Linked DNA regions of Homo sapiens: region 2 is linked to region 1. Evidence: promoter capture Hi-C in human tissues and cell types (Jung and others, 2019). All regions are on one chromosome and are shown on one strand. Each heading gives the region's core, a stretch centred on a gene start or on the middle of the fragment in contact. The rest is flanking DNA. Distances are from core to core; before and after follow the strand shown.

The links. Contacts are between HindIII fragments. The study calls those that stand out against the background at their distance.
Region 2: a contact is called between a fragment that was not itself captured here and the fragment with the promoter of PLXNA2 in region 1, in 2 of the 25 tissues and cell types used here (bladder and heart left ventricle).

What each region holds. Positions count from the first base shown.
Region 1 is chr1:208,241,211-208,247,602 of GRCh38, reverse strand. PLXNA2 (plexin A2) reads left to right here and starts at 3,219. Exons shown (of 32, transcript NM_025179.4): 1 at 3,219-3,960. RefSeq lists a silencer at 3,102-3,161 and enhancers at 3,680-4,179, 4,180-4,681. The HindIII fragment of the contact is 14,189 bases long and covers 1-6,392 here.
Region 2 is chr1:209,347,107-209,352,950 of GRCh38, reverse strand. No RefSeq gene overlaps it. Among named protein-coding and RNA genes, the nearest start is that of LINC01698, 22 kb to the left of the region's middle. The HindIII fragment of the contact is 4,722 bases long and covers 469-5,190 here.

The DNA.
Region 1 (6,392 bases), core at 1,970-4,469:
CATTCTTCACAGGAAACATTCTGTGGCATTCCAGAATGTTGGTGCCCTGTCCTCTCCCACTTCTCTCATTCTCTTGCTTAAGTAACCCATCTAGTTACTTAGCTTGCTTCTTTGACAAGCAAAGAAGAGGCCTGGGGCCTGGAACAAGAATGCAGAAGTGACAAATGACTTTCAAGGTGAGGTTCCAGGAATATCTTGACTAGGGAAGGTAGGTAGGTTGGGGTGAGTGGAGAACCCTGTTGAGTGTGCTATGATTTTCCAATGATGAGGATTTGGCATAAGATAAACATTTCCCCATTCATTCATTTGTTCATTCATTTGATAAATATTTGTTAAATATCGACAGCCTGCTCACAAATATGTTGCACTACATCTATCCTTCCAGATGGAAATGAGGACGAACTACAAGGCCCTGACAGAGGACTGGTCAGTCCCAAGGGGCTGTGGGCCTGATATCAGATGGACAGAATGAGGAAGAATATAGTGAAGGGCAGAAACATACAAGAAAACCAGAAACCTCAGAAAGAGATAGATCTGAGGTTATAGAATCTGTAGGGTTATTGCCATGCTTTCTTTAAAAATATGTGCCAAAGCAGTAATTATGGACTGTATATAGTTCCATTAAAGGAAGAAATTTAGTAAATTTGCTCTTCATAAATATTTGCGTAATAAATGAATGAATACCCAGATCAAAGGGAGAAGGTTAACGAGCAGATGTAAAGACTAGAGGTTCAGGTATACCGCTGTTGCCTCAGAGGATGTCAAATCTAAATACGAACCATGAACCCAAGGTTTTGGTTTTTTTTTAAATTCTCAGAGCATGTTATGGTAATTAGATGTTTAGCTAATAAGATCCATATTTGTTCTAGCCTATTAGGACTAAATATAACAACAATCTTTCCATTTTGATGATACTATTACTTCTTCCAACACGCTTACATATATCTATTTTAATTCCCCCAGTTGTCTGGAGAGTGAAGACAGAAATTCCCATCTTACAGATGGACAAACTGTGGCCTAGAGAAGTTAGAGGTACTTCATCCACTGTACCTCCCAGTAGATCAAGTTAGCGCTCTTTCCATTGCTATGCTGACCACAGGCTCTTCCATAGTCTCACAGGACTCAGATCTTAGACCCTGTTCAGTGGCAATGTGGAATCTGGATGGCGTCGTGCCACCCTGTCAGCCACAATGTGTCCTCCCGCCTGTGTTCCCTCTTTCTCTCCCTTTATTCAGGAAAGAGAGGGGAGGTGTGGGGATAAAAGATGGGGTGAGTGGAAGAGTCTGTTTCATTTTATGCTTCCTTGCTCTTCATTCTAAGATTTATTTCTGGACCACAGGAGTGGAGGGTGGCATATGAGAAAATTATTTCAATTGTATCATAATCTTCCCAAGGTGTGATTAAATTGAGGCATAGGGAAGAGAGGTGACCTCTTCCAGAGTCAGACACCACTTGATTTAGAACCAGAGGGCCCTAATTTTCAGCTTGGAGCTTTATCAATTAGATATCTCCAATCCTACCACGGCTGGTCTTAGGTGTAGCTGGCCAAACTCCATGAACAAATGGAGGAAGTGTTCCAAAATCTTCTAGCATCTTCTTCAAATCATCTTTTTTAATAAATTGTGGTTTAGATTCAGTCTACCCAGAGATAAAACGATCGACTAGTCTGTCTGCATGGGGAGACAAGATCTACTTATAAAAATAAATAAATAATAACACAGGGTAAATATGATAATTTATTGGTGTGTTACCAACAATGAATGCTAAAGAAGTTTGAAGGAAAGAACAGGTATGGATCAGGCAACACAGCTTAGACAGATTCTTTGTGGTCCCACAGGACAAAACTAGCAGTAGCCAGTGAAAGTTACAGGAACACAAATTTCAGCTAATTACAATGAAGAACTTTTGAAGAATTCGCTGATTTCTGCAGATGTTGGAGTAAAGCCTAGATCCCCCAGTCCTGTGTTGAATGTGCGATTGTTCGAGATGACTGGTTAGTCTAGATTTCCTTTTCTTCTTCCTCTCTCTCTCTCTTTTCTCCGGCTCCCTTTCTTCATCCTTCCCTCCCTTCGTTTCTTCTGCCGCTACTGCTCTAAGAATTTGGTGCAATTGCTTTTAGGTATTCGCAGTGATTTTTGTTGTTTTTTAGATTTATACCACTGAGGACTGTGGCCACGAGAGGGCAGTAGAGGAAGCTTATCAGAATACTTGGACAGGAGTAAACTCGTGTGCGCTCTAATCGCGAGCAGGGACTACGCAGATCCTGCGAACTCGCTGGGGTCCAGCTTGCAGGCCGCTTCCGGAAAGCCGTGTCTAGAGGCTGCGGAGTTACTGAGACTGTGTGGCGAGGAATCAGTGGCCTTGAGGGCACCGAGACATTGTCATCCAGAATCCCGAAACCTCTCACCTTAGGTTATTAAAATAAGTTATCTTATTGCCACCCCTCTGATTACCCTGCCAGAAAGATTCTCTGAATTGGATATAGAAAGCTCTTCTCCCGTCCCCAATGCCCCCATGCAAGTCGGGACTTACCAGATGCCCAGGATCCCTATCAGGGCTGGAAGTTTGAGATTCAATTCAGAGCAAGGTTCATCTTCTCATTGCAATAATAATAATAACAACAACTTCAAGCCTTATTTGACAGCTTGTTGGCCTTTTTCTTTTTTTAATTTACAAGAAGAGGAAATTTGCTCCCACAAATTCCAAGACTCTAGTCTCAACCCTACCAGACAAGCCCCGTTCCTCCCCACTCACCCCTCACTCAAATTACAGATGAAGAGGGAGGTGTGCAGGATGTGTGCGGTGACAGGTGATGCGAATGGGGGGGATTCCCTGTCCCTACTGCCCTCACCCACTCTTCCTGTGTTCTGAGCTCCCCCCTAACCCCAACGCTAGACCTTCTATTCCCCCGGGGGCCAAGCCAGCTGGGCTCGCAAGGCCCGACTCGAATTCCCGGGCCCTGGCAGCATTTTCCTTGCCCCCTTGGCTACTTAAGGTGGCCGATGGGTCCGGGCTGAGCTGGGCGCAGGACAGGCAGCCGAGCGGCCTCCGGATGCCAAACCTGCTTCTCCTTTGTTGACAGCTTGCGGAGGAGGAAGTCCGCGCGGGCGGGGGAGGGGGCAGGGTGCTGGCGGTGGCGGGCGGTGCCAGCAGCGGGCGCGGCCCCAGCCCGGGCGGACGCGGCCGGCGGGGAGGGGGTTAACGCGCGCGGCCTCTATGATAATGAGCTGCATGGTGAAATAGGGAGGCCGGCGCTCAGGGCTCCTCCGCCGCCGCCGCCGCCGCCGCCGCCGCCGCCACCGCGGGAGCCAGAGCTGCCGGGAGGAGCGGCATCCGCGCCAGACTGGAGCGGGAGGGCGGCGGAGGGCAGTTGCTGGGAATTTTTCAGCCGAGAGGGCGAGCGATCCGGAGAGAGACCCCGAGAGCTTGGGAGCGGTAGGGCGTGCGAGCGCCGCAGCCAGCGGAGCAAACCTCGAAATAGATCTGGAAAGCCAGGCTCCCGGAGGAAATGGGACTGTGAACGAACCGGAGAGCAAGAAGGGAAGGAAGCGCCGGGATTGCTGATGTCAGAGGAGCCCGGAAAGTCGCGCTGGAAAAATCTGAAGACAGCCGGGGCTCTGCTTCTTCCTCAGGAGAGACACCGCCGGCCGCCCCCACACGCCCCCTCGGCGCCTCCGGGTGCCCCCTGAGAGCCGGCGACAGCGCCCAGCCGGGCTGCTGCGGGGCGACGGAGGACTGAGGGGCGCGCGGAGCGGAGACCGAGGAGCGACTTCAGGAATACAGATAAGTGTCTGGTGGCTTGACGTGGATTTTAATGAATTTGGACTCCATGTGGATTTGGTCGTCTCCCTGATTCCGAGCTGCGGGCAGGGAGAGGGGCCTCGCGCCGCCCTCAGCAGCCGGCGGCGGCCGAGGTAGACCGAGCGGGGACGGAAGGACAGACCGACGTCGCCGAGCTGGGTAAGCGGCGGCTGGGCCGGGCGCTCGGAGTCGGCAGCGCCCTCCGCCCTCTCCCCACAGGCGCGCACACCCGTGGCGGCTTCTCCCGCGCCCGCCTCTTTGGGGTCCCGGCCCCAGAAGACCCGGCTTGGCCGCGGCGGGCGAGTCCCCGCGTGGGCTCGGCCACTTTCGCGGGCTGGAGCGCGGCGTGCGCGCGATCGCAGGCTCACTGGAGCCGCTGCCTCCCGCCGAGGGCTTCCCGGCCGGCAGCCCGCCGGCTTCCCGAATGCGGGCTGAGGGCGGCAGCAGCGCTCCGCGGCGCGCCTCCACCGCGCACCTGCCGGCGCTCTGCGGCTTTGGGGAGCTCGGGGCGGCAAGGCTGTCCTGAGAGCTGGAGCCCAAAGAGGGCCTCGGTGGCACCAGCGAGACAGCCCAAAGCCACACTGGCCAGCGATCGATTTGGGGGCGTTCACTCCAGTGCCGGGGTCCCTGGTGGCCGCCGGCTCTCCCTTCCGATCGGGGACTGGAGATCAGGGGAATGGGAAAACATCATTTGCGCGGGTTCCATAAGGCTCAGGGAGAGATTCCTAGGCACTGAATGGGTCTAAGTGTTTCATCTCCCGGGGCTCCCTTTGCGGTGTATCGCCCAGCAGGGGTCCAGCCCCTTAGTTTGAGCACCACAGGAGTGCTGGGGGTTGAAATGGGAGTTTGCTTAGGGTCCCAGAGGCTCCTTATGAACCATTTGAGAATGTTTCCTTCCATGTGCTCTTTCTTGCCCCACCCCACAAGTGAGGTAGGGATCCTAGAAAATTCTAGCCCTTTTTATCCATCCCACAGGTAGTCTCTATAATGCCAATCATGGTCTAGATGCCCAGAGAGTCACCAGAAACTACCATTTTAGATCCCCGAAAAAAGTCCACCTGTTTGGAATGACCCTTGCCCTAGTGGGAGCTACCTACTCAAACTCAGCTCTGCTCAGGAGGGATAGAAATAATGGTGGGGAGGAAGTTGGATAAAAGATTTGGGGCTCTAGGTCAGTAAGGGTCTAGAAATGAGAGCCCCATGAAGTGGGCAATGGAAATCTGAACAGGTCCCCTGTAGGAATCTTAGAGTGACAGTGGCACACCAGTAGAAAGTGCACAAGGGACATGAAGGCAGCATCAGTTTGAGGGGACTGGGACTGCCAGTCATAGCTTGAGGCAGTCACTTGGGGGCCCATCAGTTTGGAAGAACCCACAGAAATTTGGGGGCACATTCATTTCCTTCCATTCACGCGCACAGTGGACAAGGCTTATGAGCGGCAGGCCAAGATGAGTATCTTGGCTGGCCTGGGCTGGAGGCTTTGAGAGCAGGAGTCAGGTTTAGCTCTCCCCTCTCCCCACACAATAGCAGTCTCCCTCCTTTGCTGGGCTTCTTTCCCAGATCTTGAAACTTCACTCTTCCCTCTGGGTTGGCTTTGGATTCTGGGGCCTTCTACTGATTGACAGAGCCCCAGGAAGAGATAACCTTGGCTGGAGGAATTCAGCTATTCCTAACTGAAATGCACAACTTTTATGCAATAACCCCAGAAAGCTCCCAGAGTTGCTTGCAGCCCTCTCCCCTCTGACCTCCAGGCAAGAAAAGAGAAGAATTCATTAACTTCCCTCTCTCTTCACGGAGCACCATTTGAACTAATTACCTGGGATCTCTCCTTGGTGGTGGCCTGGAGGCTGAAGGGGCAGTGAAGAGAAAGGGTAGGGAACCAAGGAAACAGTGGAATCTGTCATAGCGAGGTTGTTTTTCATTCCCCTTCTTCCACCTGGCATCACCACCAACCCCTCCTCATTCCAGAACTTGCCCCTGCTGCCACCAACCAGCATTACCTAAAGGAGCTATTTCCCTCCACTCCGCAGCCGATCGTCTTCAGGGACCTGCTGATAAAGGGAGGGCAATGCAGATTACCCTCTCTGCTCCCTCACTGTCCTCAGCAAATTGCATTAGGATGGGGGCAAACTGGCTTGCAAAGCAGTTAAATGGAAATGACATTTGGAGCGATGTGCAGGGAAGATGCTGAGGAGCAGCAGTGGTAAAGTACCAGGAGATCTCTATCCAGGGACCATGAGTCTGCCAAGGAAATCCCAGCTGGTCCTTCTTTTTGGCAGGGCATAAGGACAGGGGTCCCTCAAAGCCTGGAGCAGGACAGGGGGGCTGGCTAGCTTTTCAGCCCAAGTCTAAATGAAGAGTATGGCAGTGTCTTATGTCCATCGCCCAAAACCATGTCATTACAAGGTTGGTGGCCCCCCTTTCAGAGCTAGTCTGAATACCTATCCCTGTCTTCAGAGCACCAGGGAACATTCACCCTGCAACTCTCTTGACCATCAAAAGCTGCAGATGCGGTGAATGTAAAAGTTCCTTCACCATCTGTTTTACTGAAGTCTGCACTTAAAATGAGGTTAAAAAGAAAGCCCTCAAAG
Region 2 (5,844 bases), core at 1,580-4,079, 1.1 Mb before region 1:
TTCATGTGTAAATTGAGGTTAATAAATTATATTTGGAAATTGATTCTATGGCTAAATTCTATGAAGATGAGATAGTCTCCAAATAGAACACTCTTTATAAAGTAGAAATAATTCCGCAATGCAAAGGATGACAATATTACATTTTGACAGTGAAGTTCAGGTTTAAATTCCAGTGCTATATTGAACATTATGCTTTTGTAGGCATTGAAATTTCCTCTTGCGAGGACTGGGATTGGATATCCAAGAGGCAAATGGAAAATTCCTTTGACCACTAAGATGTTAATTGGCTTTAAGATAATGTTCTGCAAACAGTCCATTTGCCCAACACTAACAAAAAATGAGTACACACCGGAGGCTTGATGAATTCTCACTGGGCCTTTTCAGGACATCCTTAGGTCCAAGTGACTCTGTGTCATCCCACCTATCTATTGATGAAGGTCAGGCAAACTAGGGTCACCACTTGTGACTTGAAGCATTGCCCTGTCTTCTCATCTTGACAGTAAGCTCCTTGAGGGAAAGTCGGGGGTAAAGTGGTATTTGCCATTACATACTGAACATAGTCTCTGCATCAGTAGGCCCTCAACAATGACTGCAGTGTGAAAGGGGATGGCTGAGTTAGTCCACCACTGCCGACTTCAAAGGTTCTCCAAAAAGCTCAGCAGCTGTGTAAGAAGAAAACCGTCCGGTAGTGCCTCTGTGGCCTGAGCTAAAGTCTCCCATTCAAGAACAACTTTCCTGTACCAGGCTGATGCTGACTTAGCCTTTAACCTGCGAGGTTCTTCCTCGATAAATGCAGTTACTTTTGGTGATTTCGTTAGTCTTATGAAGGATTTTTGGTGACTGGTGTGGGAAAGTTTATCAAAATTGTACCCCACATCTTTCAAAAGGGCCAAAGTGCTATTATCCTATTAAAAATCAGAAGGCCTTTCAATGTGAGCTTTGAGAGAATAAGGCTGTAGTTATGAAGTAGCTGGAGCTTCTCACTATTAAACTGCAGATATGATCTCAGACTGCTTTATCATTTAATTCATATGCTAAGTGTATCTATATGAATTTCTACTTATATATTCTTGTATGTCTATATGCTTTTTAACATTTTTGAGCCTATCCCTTTCTACCAGCTTGCACAGTTCTTCCCATAGACATCAGACAGGAACGAAACTGACATTATATATTACTGATCATTAAAGATTGATACTATCTCTCATTTAATGAAAGGAGATAGCTATTTACAACATTGATTAAAAGATGAATTTAGTGTGTATCGTGTAAGCTATAGGGAGAATGGGGAATAGACCTTAAGCCATCTGTCCCTGACTAATCATTCTGTTATGATAATTAAGGCCACAGTTTTGTTTTTGTTTTTTTTTTTTTTTTTAAGTTGGCCCCTGGAAGGGAAGCAAAGCTTGGAATCTCTTGGAGTTAAATAGCCTCTGAAGCAAAAGGTCAATTTCTTTTAGCCCCAAATCATGAACCCCCTTTGGTATAACACTCACTCCTCATCCTAATTGTCTTTCTTCCTGGCAGGAGGCAGCTGACCTTGACCTGATCCACGGCACTTTAACTCTGGTAGAGATGGGGCTGACTATGCCACTGAAACCTTTTGCTGGGGAGGGGGAGTCATAAGGAATCTTTATTTTGGGCTGAGGTTTTTCTGAAAACTATAAAGCTGATCATCCCTAAAGAGAGCTTGACTTCACTCCCAAGCTCTACTTCTTGTCAAAAATCTACTTCTGTTGTCAAAAAAGGAGCCACAGTAAGTCATTTAGTCCATTCCTCTGTTTCTGTGCTGTATTTTGTATAAAAATTCCAGAAAGGTGGAATAATAACAGTCCCCATGCTTGATAGCACTTTAGTGTTTACCAAGCATTTTACATACATCATTTCATTTATTGCTTTCCACAAATACTTCAAATTAGTTATTACTGTCTCCATTTTACAAAGCAAATTGAAGGTCAGAGAGGTTGCAGCATGCTGAAAGTCAGGCTGCTTGTAAGAGCCAGTGCCTGGGCATGGACCTTATCTAATGTCCTTTCTACAACATGACTGCACCAGACTATCTGGTGGATGTAGGCTCTTTCCAGGCAAAAAATTTCCACCACTTCCTATTAGGTCCCCTGGCCCTCAGAGATACCTAATATCAATTTCTCCTTCTGTACCTAAACCCATAACTTTTGTTCTCTTACCTAATGCGAATAGGTTTCCAATCTTTAAATAATAATCTTAGACCAGCCTAAAGTTTAGAGGAGCTGTTTTCCTAGTCCTATCTTCTCAACAGTGACTACTTCAAGCTGCTCTAGCTTTTTCTCCTCCTGCTTTGGAGTCAATCAGTTCTGCTACTGGACAAGTCATTTAACTGGCATATATTTTGTCACCTGCAACAGGAGGATGATGCCACCTCTCTTACAGGATTATGACGAGAAAATTAGAAAATGCATGTAAAGTGCACATATGAAATGCACAATAAATCAATATGCTGTACTTACATTTTTTCCCCATTCCTACCTTTCCTTTACCTTCCTCTCTGGTGTTTTTGTTGTCCTTGAAGATACCCAGAGAGAGGACGCACTCCCCATTTAAGTATGTAAATTGATAGCCTGGCACTTTTCTAGGAAAGGGACTCTATTTGGACAAACTTCTCCAAACAAATCATGGAGAGAATCCTGGAAGTACTTGAGGGGCTCGTCAGAGGTTAGCAGTCTCTCTGCTGGCTCAGTGCCTTGTATTCTTGTATCATCCGCATGCACCAATTATGGGCCTAAAACATAGCCAGGAGACGCCACCTAACAGCATTTGATTTATCAGTTTTATTAAACACAGATGCCTTTAATGTGGAGTTGTTTGTAGCTTGTGCTGGATTTCCAGCTACTTTATCTTATCTACTGGCCAATGTATGAATTATCTTCAAAGGACACGGCTTTTGCTTTTTATCACACTTTCTCTCCAACTACCAAGGAAGAGGTCACTTGGGAGACACATCCTTTCATGGCAAGAAAGTAGCCTCGTAGATCAAACGTGGGTTTGTTCTGGAATGGCAAAGCAGCCAGGCCAGGCCTAGAGGAGGGGCTGGCATCGCTCAGAAATGCTCATCAATCACTCACCAAACGGGACCCATGGATAAAGGCTTTGTTGGGAGATGAGTCTCAGCAATCAATTTAGTGGAGGGAGGGAGTGTGGTGCAGTAGGAGGTGCATCCACTCTGGGGCCAGACCAGGTTTCAATTCCTGTATTTGCAGCATACTAGTTTTATGTTTTTAAGGCAAATTATTGAACCTCTCTGAGCCTCAGAAACTATATCTGTAAACTGGGGTTCATACTGGCTTCCTGCTAGCATCCTTGTAAGCACCGATGAGATCATCAACCAGTATGCATTCCTTTCCCCTTCCCTTGATAATTACAGCCTCAGCTGAGGGTCTGATGTTGAGGGCAGGGGTGAGTGAAAGGGATGTCTGTGGGAGGCCCAGGAGTCTCTGCTTCACTGCAGTTTGATGATTGTACTGTGCCTACTCCTTAAAAAGATAAAAAGCCTTTCCTGCAACTTGTATTAATACTCAACACATATTTCATTCTTCCATTTTCCCCTATTCTGTTCTAAGTTGCATGAAAACAGTGCCCTGTTTTTATCCATCCCTGACTTTCCTGCAACACCTGCCATACAGGGCAGGTGGTCAGAAAACGTTTTTGAGATAAAGTCAAAGGGACTCTTTTTTTTCACCTCTGTGATTACAGTATTTTGTTTAGTTTCTGTCTGGCCCAGCAGACTTAGGAGGAAGGTTCTAAGCGTGTTGGCTGCTGCTATTAGCTTTTGAATTCTAGGCAATAGCTTTATATTCTGAGGGGGAGAAGTCAAAAACCACTGAATGGTGACTAAACAGACCAAGGGTCCCTGCCTCATGTGAGCCGGCATGAGTCCTGGCTTCGCATGAACTTGGGAAAGCTATGTAAGCTCTCTGAACCTCAATTCCTCAACCATAAAATGGGGATGATAATAATGGTATCTACTTTACGGGGTTGTGGTGCAGATTAAATGAGTTGCTATCTTTAAAACCTTAGAATAGTGCTTGGCCATAGTGAATGCTTCTTGTGTTTGTTTATGTCACGACTACTATTATTTCTATCTAGTTGTGTGATGGGTAGAGCAAGGTGAGCAGGGCTAAACTCTGCCAGTTATACTATTCTGTGGGCTTTGATGAGCTCAATGGAATAAAAAGGAACAAGAAAGGCAAGACAAGGCAGAACTTGTGTGTGAGTGGCCTGGACCTCAGTCAATCTTCTCTGATGCTGGGCTCTGAACCAGGGTGGGAGTGAGTTCATGATGGATTTGGGGTATCCAAGGGAGAGAATACAGTAATGGATTCTTAGTTTCTGTTTCTGATTGGGCCAGTAAAGCCCCTTCCTCATCCCTCTTTTCCACTTATCACTAGAGGCAGAAACTAAAAGCCATGGCTTCAGGCTGCTAAGAGCCTAAAACAAAACAAAACAAAACAAAACAAAACAGAACAACAACAAAATAAGATGAGTTGGACAAGCTTGATTTAAACTTTGGATGACAACATTTGTCCAGGTAGTTGCTTTTTCTTTGGGTTGGATGCCGAAACAAGTAGAATGAGTCCTGCGATCCCCTTAGCAGATAGCTCTTCTGGCTTACAGAAGCTAATCACATAAACACTGGGAAGAATTCCAGCTCCCCAAAACTAGAAATAAAATTCAAAGATGAGGGTCAAGGTGGGAACTCCTATCTCGGGAATTTTTAACTCAGAGAGTTAAAAATCTGGAGGCTGAGGCTTGAACTTGTGGCAAGAATTATTCAGGTTTTGTTATTATTCCAAATAGTTTTTACCTTCAGGGGAAAATGGAGCTGCAATAGAAGTGTGAACTTAGCTGTCATTTTTGGCCTTTAGCACACTCTGTCATCAAATACTTAATACTTTGGTAAATATGACTCGGTGGTATTGGGTGGTGGGGGCAGGTGGGGTTCACAAAGCTTCGTGCTTCGAGCAGCAACTGTCTTTGGGATGGATAAACCCTCAAAGGAATAGCAGAATTTGATACCTACCATAGAGCTATGGAATGCAGCCCCAGGAGAAACACCTACCATAGAGAGCAGCACTTATAACTTTTGTGGGGTGGGGTAAGAGGGTGGGGATAGAAATAAAGTAATTTATTGCTGGCAAAGGAATGTTTTTCTTCCATCAAAAGTAGGATTTATTGTCTGTATAATGTGTGACATACCCAGATTGGAAGAGTGGTATTTTGTTGAAGATGGTTTTGCCTGGTAAATCCACTCAGGACACCAAAATTATTTAAAATATTAAAATAAACATTTTGTCTTCTTTACAGTGAATACATGCTATTATAGAAAATTCATGCACGAAAACATAAAGAAAAATTAAAGCTTTTCATCATCTGACCATCCAAGATAACCAATTAGCATTTTGTTACAATTTTAGATGTTTTCTATACTTTTTAAACATGTTTCAAAATGACACATTAACATTTTAATTCTGACTTTTAATTATGAAGCATAAGCATCTTCATGTTGCTAGAAATGTTCATAAAATGATGGTGATGACATTACAATTTTCTATTTATTTCTGTGCTTGAATTTACTAAACTATAATAATGCTGGTAAACATTTCATGTCACTTCCTATGTGCCAGATATTGTTCTAAGTGTTTGACATACATTAACTCATTTGATTCCCAAAACCACGTTGTAAGGCTTGTACTGTTAATATTCCCCATATTACAGAGAAATAAATTGAGAGGTTAAGTAATTGCCAGAGGTCACTTGACTGTTGAGTGATGGGGTCAAGATTTGAACAAAGGTAGATAGTGCTCTATG